2 separate regions of the Homo sapiens genome follow, and region 1 is linked to region 2. Evidence: promoter capture Hi-C in 16 types of primary human blood cells and fetal thymus (Javierre and others, 2016). All regions are on one chromosome and are shown on one strand. Each heading gives the region's core, a stretch centred on a gene start or on the middle of the fragment in contact. The rest is flanking DNA. Distances are from core to core; before and after follow the strand shown.

The links. Contacts are between HindIII fragments. The CHiCAGO score rates a contact against its expected background, and 5 or more counts as called.
Region 1: a contact is called between a fragment that was not itself captured here and the fragment with the promoter of IFNAR2 in region 2, in 12 of 17 cell types (neutrophils, naive CD4 T cells, naive B cells and 9 more). The highest score is 11.1, in neutrophils.

Annotation. Positions count from the first base shown.
Region 1 is chr21:33,340,583-33,346,756 of GRCh38, forward strand. IFNAR1 (interferon alpha and beta receptor subunit 1) reads left to right here. Exons shown (of 11, transcript NM_000629.3): 3 at 417-592; 4 at 2,686-2,840; 5 at 2,953-3,094; 6 at 4,664-4,778. Among named protein-coding and RNA genes, the nearest start is that of IFNAR1, 19 kb to the left of the region's middle. The HindIII fragment of the contact is 3,215 bases long and covers 2,793-6,007 here.
Region 2 is chr21:33,226,377-33,231,946 of GRCh38, forward strand. IFNAR2 (interferon alpha and beta receptor subunit 2) reads left to right here and starts at 3,562. Exons shown (of 9, transcript NM_001289125.3): 1 at 3,562-3,840. It overlaps IFNAR2-IL10RB (IFNAR2-IL10RB readthrough), which reads left to right and starts at 3,562. Exons shown (of 13, transcript NM_001414505.1): 1 at 3,562-3,840. RefSeq lists silencers at 3,379-3,838, 3,899-3,958, 3,979-4,028, 5,251-5,440. The HindIII fragment of the contact is 6,332 bases long and covers 688-5,570 here.

The DNA of each region.
Region 1 (6,174 bases), core at 3,150-5,649, 120 kb after region 2:
AAACTTTCAATAAGGAAGATAAGATCCAGAAACACAAAATAGTTTACCAAAAGTCACACAGCTATTTTTAACAGAGCCAACATACTAAATCCACTTTTACCTTATGGGTCATTTATTTCTCTGCTTCCTGAAGCAACCACCCACAAAATTATATAAAGAACTGTATTTTAAAATTCAGTTTCATAAGTAATAACTTGGCTTATATGCATTGAAAAAGAGTGGAAGGGTGTATGCTAAAATGTTAATAGGACATTAGCTCAAGTAGAAGAAATAACTCTTAAACCAAAAATAGAAATAACTCTTAAACAAGAGTTATTAAGAGTTAAGAAATAACTCTTATACCAGTAAATAGAAAGTATTTGACACTTACATTTATACATTTGCTCACTCATTCATTTGTTTTTTTTACTTTAAAGAACTGGGATGGATAATTGGATAAAATTGTCTGGGTGTCAGAATATTACTAGTACCAAATGCAACTTTTCTTCACTCAAGCTGAATGTTTATGAAGAAATTAAATTGCGTATAAGAGCAGAAAAAGAAAACACTTCTTCATGGTATGAGGTTGACTCATTTACACCATTTCGCAAAGGTAAGAAAAAGTTGCTAGCTGAATTATATTCTTTAGTAAATATTACCAGAGCAGTTCACTTTCCAAGCCATTCATTTGCATGATGCAAAATCTAACATCTTTTAAAAAGAACAAAAATTCCCTTAAACCTATATCTTCTTCCTGCTATGGCTCCATTTGTCCTACTTTCCCTGTAGTAGTGGTTCTCAAAGAGTGATCCTCAAGGCCCTTTCAGGGGGCTGTAAAGACAAAGCTATATTTATGACAAATCTAAGACTTAGTTGCCTTTTTAATTTTTGTTCTTTCTTGTATTCACAGTGGAGTTTTCCAGAGGAGGCTGTTTGATGTGTGATGTGGTGATATGGTCACTGATTTAACATAGAATTCAATGTGAAATTCATCTGCCTTCTTTATTAATCCAAACATTCAAAAGATTTGGAAAAAAAATGTAAAACAGCACCACTCTGAAGTTTCTATGTTCCTTTTGGCAAATGTTTGTTACCATAAAATAGGTTTATCATTGTTATTTCTTTCTTTTTTTTTTTGAGACAGAGTTTTGTTCTTGTTGCCCAGGCTGGAGTGCAATGGCACAATCACGGCTCACTACAGCCTCTGCCTCCTGGGTTCAAGTGACTCTCCCGCCTCAGCCTCCCGAGTACCTGGGATTACCAGCATGCATCACCATGCCTGGCCAATTTTGTATTTTTAGTAGAGACAGGGTTTCTCCATGTTGGTCAGGCTGACCTCAAACTCCCAACCTCAGGTGATCTGCCCACCTCAACCTCCCAAAGTGCTGGGATTACAGGCGTGAGCCACCATGCCCAGTCCATTGTTATTTCTTAATGGATTAATTAGTTAAAATGGATTGAAAACTTTACCAGTTTTAATGTTTAATATGCTAATATAAAAATATACAGCCCACATAAATAATGGCTGTTTGGGATTCTCGATAATTCCTTTAAGAATGTAAAGGAGCTGAGTGTAGTGGCCCACACCTGTAATTCCAACACTTTGGGAGGCTGAGGTGGGAGGATCACTTGAGGCCAGAAGTTCAAGACCAACCTAGGCAACATAGTGAGACCCCATCTCTACAAAAAATATATAAAAATTAGCCAGGCATGGTGGTGCACACCTGTAGTCCCAGCTATTCAGGAAGCTGAAGAGGGAGGATCACTTGAGCCTGGGAGATCAAGGTTGCAGTGAGCTGTGTTTGTGCCACTGCACTCCAGCCTGAGCAACAGAGCTAGACCATATCTCAAAAAAAAGTGGGGATCCTGAGACCAAAAGGTTTGAGAACCACTGCCCTGTACCAAGAATGATCTGTACTCCCTTTCTATACTAATCTTCCAATTCCCTGTCAGCCCTCTCCATTCAAATTCTGTTCCTCCTCACTTAAAACCACTCTTTTTGGCCAGGCGCGGTGGCTCACGCCTGTAATCCCAGCACTTTGGGAGGCCAAGGCGGGCAGATCACGAGGTCAGGAGATCGAGACCATCCTGGCTAACACGGTGAAACCCTGTCTCTACTAAAAATACAAAAAAAAAAAAAAAAAAACTAGCCGGGCATGGTGGCGGGAGCCTGTAGTCCCAGCTACTCGGGAGGCTGAGGCAGGAGAATGACATGAACCCGGGAGGCGGAGCTTGCAGTGAGCCGAGATCGTGCCACTGCACTCCAGCCTGGGCGACAGAGCGAGACTCCGTCTCAAAAAAAAAAAATAAATAAACCACTCTTCTCAAGGTCACAGCAGCCTCCACAATGCCAAGCAAATTCCCAGTCCTCTTCTGGCTTCATCCCTCTGTAGCATAGATGTGGTCATCACTCAGTTTTTCCTTTACTGGATCTCTGGGACACTGCTCTTTCCTGGTTCTCCTCCTGCTCATTGATCGCTTCATCTTCCCAACTTTTCAGTGTTAGACTGCTGCTGGGCTCAGTCATTGAACCTCTTCTCTTTCTGTATCACTCCACTGGTGATCTTACAGCTTTCTATCCTATCTGTATGCTCTTAACTCCCAGAAGTGGCAGGCACATATTAAGTGCTCAGAATTATTTGTTGAATGAAGGTTTTGGCATTGTATTAATAAAGTTCCATAGTAATTGTTTTGATTTTTTTGCAGCTCAGATTGGTCCTCCAGAAGTACATTTAGAAGCTGAAGATAAGGCAATAGTGATACACATCTCTCCTGGAACAAAAGATAGTGTTATGTGGGCTTTGGATGGTTTAAGCTTTACATATAGCTTAGTTATCTGGAAAAACTCTTCAGGTGTAGAAGTAAGCATTATTTTTACCTCTGTTTAATCGATGTGAGAGAAAAATTAGGCGAATTAATCCTAAAATTTGACTTTATACTTTTTTAAAGAACCAACTTATATTTGTGTTATAGGAAAGGATTGAAAATATTTATTCCAGACATAAAATTTATAAACTCTCACCAGAGACTACTTATTGTCTAAAAGTTAAAGCAGCACTACTTACGTCATGGAAAATTGGTGTCTATAGTCCAGTACATTGTATAAAGACCACAGGTAAGGAAGATGTTTTGTTTTAGATTCAATAAATATATAAACAGATTGTCAATTTTGGCATCTTCCCCATATTGCTGAAGTTTACATGATAGGTCAATATATGTTAAAAACATTGTAACATTTACATAAGCAAAATAAATGTTACTTGGGATTTTTGTCTCAAATAGTAATGAAAATTAATTCTACTTAAAAGTTCAGGCTGGGCGTAGTGGCCCACGCCTGTAATCCCAGCACTTTGAGAGGCTGAGGTAGCTGGATCACTTGAAGCCAGAAGTTCGAGAACAGCCTCGCCAACATGGGAAAACCCCGTGTCTACTAAAAATAATTAGCTGGGCGTGGTGGCTCACGCCTGTAGTGGTAGCTACTTGGGAGGCTGAGGCACAAGAATCCCTTGAACCTGGGAGGTGGAAGTTGCAGTGAGCCAAGATCGCGCCACTGCACTCCAGTCGGGAGCAAGGGGGACAAAGAGTAAGGCTCCGTCTTAGAAAAAAAAAAAAGTTCAAATATTTTGTAATGACAAAACTTTTCATTTGTTCAGAATCCACATGAAGCAGGAGGTAGCTGAACTATGAGTTCTGCAAGTGGGAAGAAAAGGTGGGGAAGTAGTTGCTAGTAGACAAGTTATTGTTCAAGAAAGCATACCTTTGTAAGTGGAATGTTAAAATATGAAAGTATCCTGATACATTTAGTAACATCTTTCCAATAATTAAGGTCAAGGGCAGGAGCTGGGATTTGTTTATTTTAATTGTAAATTTCATATGCTTTTTTTTTTAATCAAACATTACGGAAGGGTTTAAAGTGAAGTCTTCTTCTCCCTTCTTATCCCCAATTCCATTCACTAGAGATAAGCATTGCTTAGCAGTTTGTGTATATCCTTTCACAACTTTTTTCAGGATTTATGTAAGCATATACACAGACCCACAGTTTCTTGGGTTTTGTTTTTTAAAATTACAAAATAAAATCTTACTAGAAGTATTTTACAGCTTGCTTACTTAACCCAGTGTGTTGGGGATATTCTATATCACTCAATACAGATCTATTACGTTCTTCATTTGATCTTAGCCATCTATTGCATTCTTTCTTTTTTACTTATTTATTTATTTATTTATTTATTTATTTATTTATTTTTGAGACAGAGTCTCACTCTCTTGCCCAGAATGGAGTGCAGTGGCTCAATCTCGGCTCACCGCAACCTCTGCCTCCCAGCTTCAAGCGATTCTCCTGCCTCAGCCTCCCGAGTAGCTGGGATTACAGGCGTGTGCCATCATGCCTGGCTAATTTTTGTATTTTTAGTAGAAATGGGGTTTCACCATGTTGGCCAGGCGCGTCTCGAACTCCTGACCTCAGGTGATCCATCCACCTCAGCCTCCCAAAGTTCTGGGATTACAGGTGTGAGCCACTGCGCCCGGCCTGTAGTCTTTCAAATGGCTGCATAGTATTACATAGTGTGAATACAAACCATATTTAACTATTACCTTATAATGATAAAATGCGAGCCTTTATCTTCTTGCCAGTTATCTCACTTGAGTAAAAATGTGTGCTTTTTTTTATCTGTTCTTTGGCTTCTAGTTGAAAATGAACTACCTCCACCAGAAAATATAGAAGTCAGTGTCCAAAATCAGAACTATGTTCTTAAATGGGATTATACATATGCAAACATGACCTTTCAAGTTCAGTGGCTCCAGTAAGTTCCATTCCATAAATTTCCTTTTGCCCAGTTTGTTTTGATTATGCTTCTTTTCGCTCTGCATCAGTCACCAGGTCCTTGCACACAGAATGACCGACTGGGAGGTGGGTACGATATATTGGAAACGTGAGAAATCTCATTTCTAACCCCAGTTCTGCCAGTAACTAACTGGATGACATTGAGCTAATCGCTTAACCTCCATGGGCCTCAATTTCTTCACTTGTAAAATAGATGGATTCTAATATCTGGGGTTCTTACTGGCTTAAGAAAAAAAAGAAAGTGTAACTAGTTGCATGTGTTATTTCCCCAATCTGGAAGACTCGACAGTTGACCCTGATCTTTTTCTAAGAACTCACTTCTTCCATGAGTCCTTAAAATGATCTCAGTCCACTCACTTGTTCAATTCAAAAAATTAGCCTTCCTATTTTCTTTATTACTTTAGTGGTTTTGACAAAATTTTGTAGTAGATACTTCGGTGGGAAAGAAAGTTGGAAAGAACTATGTTCTATGTGGTTGAGCAGAGGCTAGCTAAACATGGATGAAGTCCAGGCGCTGCATAAATGAAAGAGAACTGGCCTGGTGCAGTGGCGCATGCCTATCGTCCCAGCTACTCAGTGGGCTGAGGCAGGAGGATTACTTGAGGCCAGGAATTGAGGCTGCAGTGTTGTATGATCACACCTGCTAGTAGCCGCTGCACTGCAGCCTGGGCAACATAGTGAGACCCCCATCTCTAAGCATTAAAATTTTTAAAAAGCTGATAAAAGAGAACTGCATGTAGTTTATATTGATTGGAAAATTGTAGGAGATGAATAGAGAAAAGAGAAGAGGAAAATTAAGTAGAAGGAAAAATGGGTTATGGGGAGAAAAGAGATGGAAAGAAAGATATACATTGGTGGCAGAGGAGTAGAGAGAGCAAAGGCAAGTATAGCTAAGACAGGAAAGGAAAAGTCAGAAGAAACTGGAAAGAAACAGAAAAAATGAGGGAGAAGGGAAGTGTAAGTACCGCTATGATCAATTTCTATCTTTTAGTGTTAATTTTGAACCAAGGGTGACTGGTAGAATGCAAATGCATTTATGTGCATATGTGCCCCACAATGCATATATAACCTCACAAACCAATCAGGAAACTGTTCAGTAGTCTTTTGTGTATACCTCACTTTCAGAAGTGAATAAATAATAGGGTCACCAAATAGATAATGAGAGGTATTTCTGATAGCTGATCTCTAAGCTTCTTTTGGGTACTTACCATATTGTACAAAGCACTGAAGAAATGGAAAGAGTCAGCAGAATCAAACGTGGTTCAAAAATTGAAAGCAGTTAGCCAACATTGCAAAGTGTTGTGTGGTTTAGGACTAAAGAGTGGTATACAAATTATAAGGGTTGCAGAAATTGA
Region 2 (5,570 bases), core at 2,312-4,811:
GGAGGTTACATCATGTAGGCATGATTGATCATTAACTCAGTCTCTAGTCCCTCTCTCCTTCCTGGAGGTTGGGGTGGAGGGGGTAGGGCCAAAAGTTCCAGGCTTTATTGATTATTGGGCTTGGTCTTTTTGGTGACCAGCCTCCATCTAAAAGCTATCCAGGGGCTCACCAAGAGTAGCCTCATTGCTGGGCGCGGTGGCTCACGCCTGTAATCCCAGCACTTTGGGAGGCCGAGGCGGGCAGATCATGAGGTCAGGAGATTGAGACCATCCTGGCTAACATGGTGAAACCCCGTCTCTACAAAAATACAAAAAAAAAAAAAAAAAATTAGCTGGGTGTGGTGGCGGGTGCCTGTAGTCCCAGCTACTTGGGAGGCTGAGGCAGGAGAATGGTGTGAACCCGGGAGGTGGAGCTTGCAGTGAGCCGAGATCGCGCAGCTGCACTTCAGCCTGGGAAAAAGAGCGAGACTCGGTCTCAAAACAAAAACAAAAACAAAAACAGTAGCCTCGTTATAACGCCTATCACCCCTATTACTCAGGAAATTGCAGGGGATTTAGGAGCTCTAGGCAGGAACCAGACCATATATTTTTCTATGAAAAAACAAAACCCTTAGCATAGCGATCATCATGATTTTAAATTCCTAGTCTGATTTGCAAATTCTCTGCCATCTCCGAGTCTTATTTCTAAGCTTGCTTTGTCTCTTCCAATTGTGCTTGGTGTTGTCTGCCTTTCAGCATGCCTTGTAATTCGTTGTTAAAAACTAGATATAACATATCAGGTCATGGGAGCTGAGATAAATGGCCCTTTAGGATAAGGTGTTAGGTTTATCTGGCTAAGAGTTAGGCTGTGTTAAATGTTTGCTGTAGTTGTAGGTGTCAGAGGCTTCAGTTTTATTTAGTGTCCTCATTTTTGTCTCCTCCATTGTCTTTGGGTTTTCCTAGAAATGCCTTCTTAAATGGAGTTGTAATCCACCGTTATTATACTACAGAGTCCTGTTGATGTGGTGGTAAGATACTGTGGAGGCAAAACATTCTACAATCTTATGATTAATTCCCAGAGTTTTCTTTAATGGGCCTGAGTCTCTGGGCTATGACCCTCCGAGAAGTTTCTTAACTTTTGCTTTTTTCCTCCAGTCATGATAGACAGGAAGGCTAGAGGGGGCTGAGTTGTCTAATTGCCCTTCTGCTAGGTCAGTTTAGGCTCCAGTAATGTAATTGCCCTGAGGACAGGTTTTTGTTACAGAACACTCTGGGCATATCTCAAAATGTTTACTTTTCCCCTCCCACCGGCCAGTCAGGAATTTTTCTGTGGTCTTTACCATGAGAACTTGGTAGAGCTTCTTGGAGTAAACCTTTAACAATTTGGGGAGCATCCCTCTAAGACTGAGTACCCAACAGTGTTTAATTCTCAAGCTAGTCCACACTCAGTCTCCAGCAATTAGTCAATTACAATTTAAGTTTTGCTATGATTTCAGAGGCTTCTGGTCCCTGTAAACTGTGATTCTTTGCATTTGTCTGTCTTTCAGTTTTTGCAGTTTGCCCTGTGACTCAATTCACTGATACTGAAACAAGAAGAGTTGTTAATCTTCAATTTGTTCAGCTTTTCTCTTGTTGTGGGGAGTGGAGTGACAGCTTTCAAGCTCTTCACACCTTGGCATAGACTGCATTTGCTTTTGTTTTGTTTTGTTTTTTGTTTGTTTGCTTGTTTTGAGACGGAGTCTCGCTCTGTCGCCCAGGCTGGAGTGCGGTAGCGCAATCTTGGCTCACGGCAAGCTCCACCTCCTGGGTTAACGCCATTCTCTCGCCTCAGCCTCCTGAGTAGCTGGGGCTACAGGCGCCCGCCACCACACCTGGCTAATTTTTTTTTTTTTTTTTTTTTTTTTTTGGTATTTTTAGTAGAGACGGGGTTTCACCGTGTTAGCCAGGACTGCATTTGTTTTTTAAAAAATCTTTTTCCTAATTATATAAGTAAGGATGTTTACTGTAGAATGTTTGGAAAGGAAACAAAATAAAAATCACCTACTATCATCCAATCTGCAATAAGTCATAGTTAAGGTTTTGACATAGTTTTATTTTTAATATATATGTTTATATAAAAGAGTGCATGCAGCACATGGAGTTTGGTATTGGATTTCTCCCATTTTCAGAGGCTATTTCTGCAAATTCTCTAAAACTGTGGCTGAAAATATTTTCAATGTTGAATGTCTTTTATAAGAAATAGGATCCTAGATAAGTTCCCTTCAGATCGTATGGGGCTGGTGGGAATTCTGCCAAGGGTCACATAAGAGGCAGGACCGTGACATCCTCTTTATGATCACCCTTGTGCCTAGCCTTAAAGGAGTATCAGCAAATGTTGGTTGACTTCATAGATTAAAAGGCTCATTTTTCCCATCTACAAAAAGTATGAAACATCCTCCTCCTCCCTTTCCTAGGAGGCCAGAAAGCTGAACGAGAGATTAAATACTCAGTTAAAACAATTTAGGTGGTTAGTGTATCTTTTCCCTCTCCTTCAAAAAGATATTAACATTTCCATTTTAGTAGCTGTAATGTTTAGAATATACATACATTTTACTTGAAAGCTGCCTCATAGTCTATTTTGGTTTTGGATTTTCTTTTTTTTTTCGTTTTTCTTGAGACAGAGTTTCGCTCTTGTCTCCCAGGCTGGAGTGCAATGGTGCAATCTCAACTCACTGCAACCTCCACCTCCCAGGTTCAAGCAATTCTCCTGCCTCAGGCTCCCAAGTAACTGGGATTACAGGCGCCCGCCACCACGCCCAGCTAATTTTTGTATTTTTAGTACAGACAGGGTTTCACCATGTTGGTCAGGCTGGGTCTTGAAGTCCTGACCTCAGATGGTCCATCTGCCTTGGCCTCCCAAAGTGCTGAGATAACAGGTGTGAGCCACCGCTCCCGGCCTCATAGTCTATTTTAGAAGTTGACAGGCTATAAATAACAAGCAGACAAATTAATGAAGAACATCTGTCTTTCTGCCTATCCCGAAACACGTTGATCAGTGGGGGGTCGAGGGAAGGGTAGGAGTATGGAGAAGAGACCCGCGGAGAAGAGGGGAGAATCTACAACGGATAATGTTGTAGATATTTACAACATTTACTCAATGGTAGGTATTTTTATCCTCGTTTTACTAGTTGGAGAATTATATCATGCAGGTTTATACAATTAACAAGTGGGGGAGCCAGGAGAGAACCCATTCACTCTTTAGTTCATTCATTCATTCAGTCAGTCAACACATCTTTGGGTGTCTTCTAAATGCCAGGCACTATTCTAACCCCTAAGGATACTTCAGTAAACAAAACAGTCCCAAATTCTTCCCCTATGGAGCTTTCTCGGCGAAGGCGGGATTGGTTAGGAGCTGACAATCGGCAGCAGACGATTGTAAATGACCGGACCTTTTTTCTATTCTCCTGCCCAGCCCCCGGCCCGGCCTCCGCCTCCGGCCCTGCTCCAGCCCCGCCAGCGGCCCAGGACCCGCCCCTGGCTCCGGCCCCGCCCCTGGCTCCGCCCCCGCCCCCGCGCCGGCGGCGGCGCGGCGCCCGCGCTTCCGTATCGCTCCTCGTAGGCCGGGGCTCGGCGCGCGCACCCGCACTAAAGACGCTTCTTCCCGGCGGGTAGGAATCCCGCCGGCGAGCCGAACAGTTCCCCGAGCGCAGCCCGCGGACCACCACCCGGCCGCACGGGCCGCTTTTGTCCCCCGCCCGCCGCTTCTGTCCGAGAGGCCGCCCGCGAGGCGCATCCTGACCGCGAGCGTCGGGTCCCAGAGCCGGGCGCGGCTGGGGCCCGAGGCTAGCATCTCTCGGGAGCCGCAAGGCGAGAGCTGCAAAGGTAACGCAGCGTGGCGGGGTCGCGGGAGCGGAGCGCGTGGCCAGCTGACTGGAGGGAAAACGCCGCCTCCCTGCAGCGGTTCCCGGAATCCCCTCCGGTTCCCTCTCGCTCTCCCCGACTCCTCCTCCTCCTCCTGCCCTCCCTCTGCGTCTTGAGTATGCGGCTAGTGCGCCCTTCCTCTCTCCCGGGGCCGCACCTGCGACCCCAGGACCCCTCCCGGGCCCTGTCCTGCGCCCTCCACGCGTCGCCCCTGCTGGGAGTCCGCTTTCGTTGCACCCCTCCGCGTCCCACCCCACCCCACCAAGGATGCCCAGGATACCGGGCATTTGCCACTGCAAGATGTGAGTCGTTGCTAAGTTTGAGGGTCACATTCCTCCAGGTCCACCCCGCCTTGCAAAACCGGCTCACCAGCTGGGTGCTCAGGTTCGGGATCTCCAGCCCGCCCCCTTGAGGTCCCCTGGGATTAGCCCCCCTCGACCTGCGTCAGGGTCACAGACTGCAGCCGGGGCTGGAGCGGCCTACACCCCTCCGGATCCGCTGCGTGGAGGCAGGAGGGGGAAGGGGCGAGGGGACGTGGCCGCGGAGACAGAAGGGTGCACCCTCCCAGGGTCGGAGAGGGGAGATACTGGGAAGATACTCCGCGAATATGGAGAGGCGATCGGCACTTGCATTTCAACCCTGAGCAAATCAATCCGTTACACGCAGTAGCGAGTTGACTCCATCAGCCCGTTTATTTGGTTAGCGATGGTTATATTGACTCTGAGTATTCCCACCTCCTTTCTTTTAACATTTTTTTTTTTATTTCCTTGTTTTGTTTAGCAAGAAGTCTTAGAAACGAATATAGCATGCTTGGGCGTTGATTCAGTGGTGAGAAGTGCCGGAGCTGGCTCAGGGAGAGGTGGAGTTTCCCATGTGTGCTCACTGGCCCAGGGGCTAAGTCCCACTGCTTGCCAAGGTTTCTCAGTATCCTGTCCACCCACCCCCTATCCACCTGTGCAGGCTTGAGGGGGTGAGGGGGTAGCAGATACTCTATCAAAATCTACCCTAAGGAAAATATTCGATAAACACTCCTAGCAATTAGGGCATAGCTGATAAGGCTTGATCTGTTTGTCGCAGAAAATGACTTGAACTTGTAAGTTCTATTGTTCATAAAGTTGTTTTCCACAATTTTAGATAATCAAAAATGTACATGACTCATTTTTCTTACCTATTATTTCCTCTAAAGTTTCTCATGTATTTATTGAAAAGTTAAAGAAAATCTGATTTTGGTTCACATAATTTGACAATGGTGATTTGTCTAAAAGTCATTTCAAAAAGTAGTATGAAAAGGATCATAACCCTAGAGGTACTGTCATAGACGTGAAACATTTATTAAAATATATATTCCATGGCTCACACTTGCACACTCAAAGCCACATTGGACTCATTTTTTCTGCTACCTTTATAAACCTTCAAACTGTTCAAGAGTCAATGGTATGTATCATCTTCCGTTATCAATCATCATGTTTTGTTTTGTTTGGTTTGGTTTGGTTTGGTTTGGTTTTTGACAAAGTCTCGCTCTGTCGCGCAGGCTGGAGTGCAGTGGCACTGTCTTGGCTCACTGCAACCTCCCCCTCCTGGGTTCAAGCGATTCTTCTGCCTCAGCCTCTTGAGTAGCTGAGATTACAGGCGTGTGCTACTACGCCTGGCTAATTGTATTTTTAGTAGAGATGGGATTTCCACTATGTTAC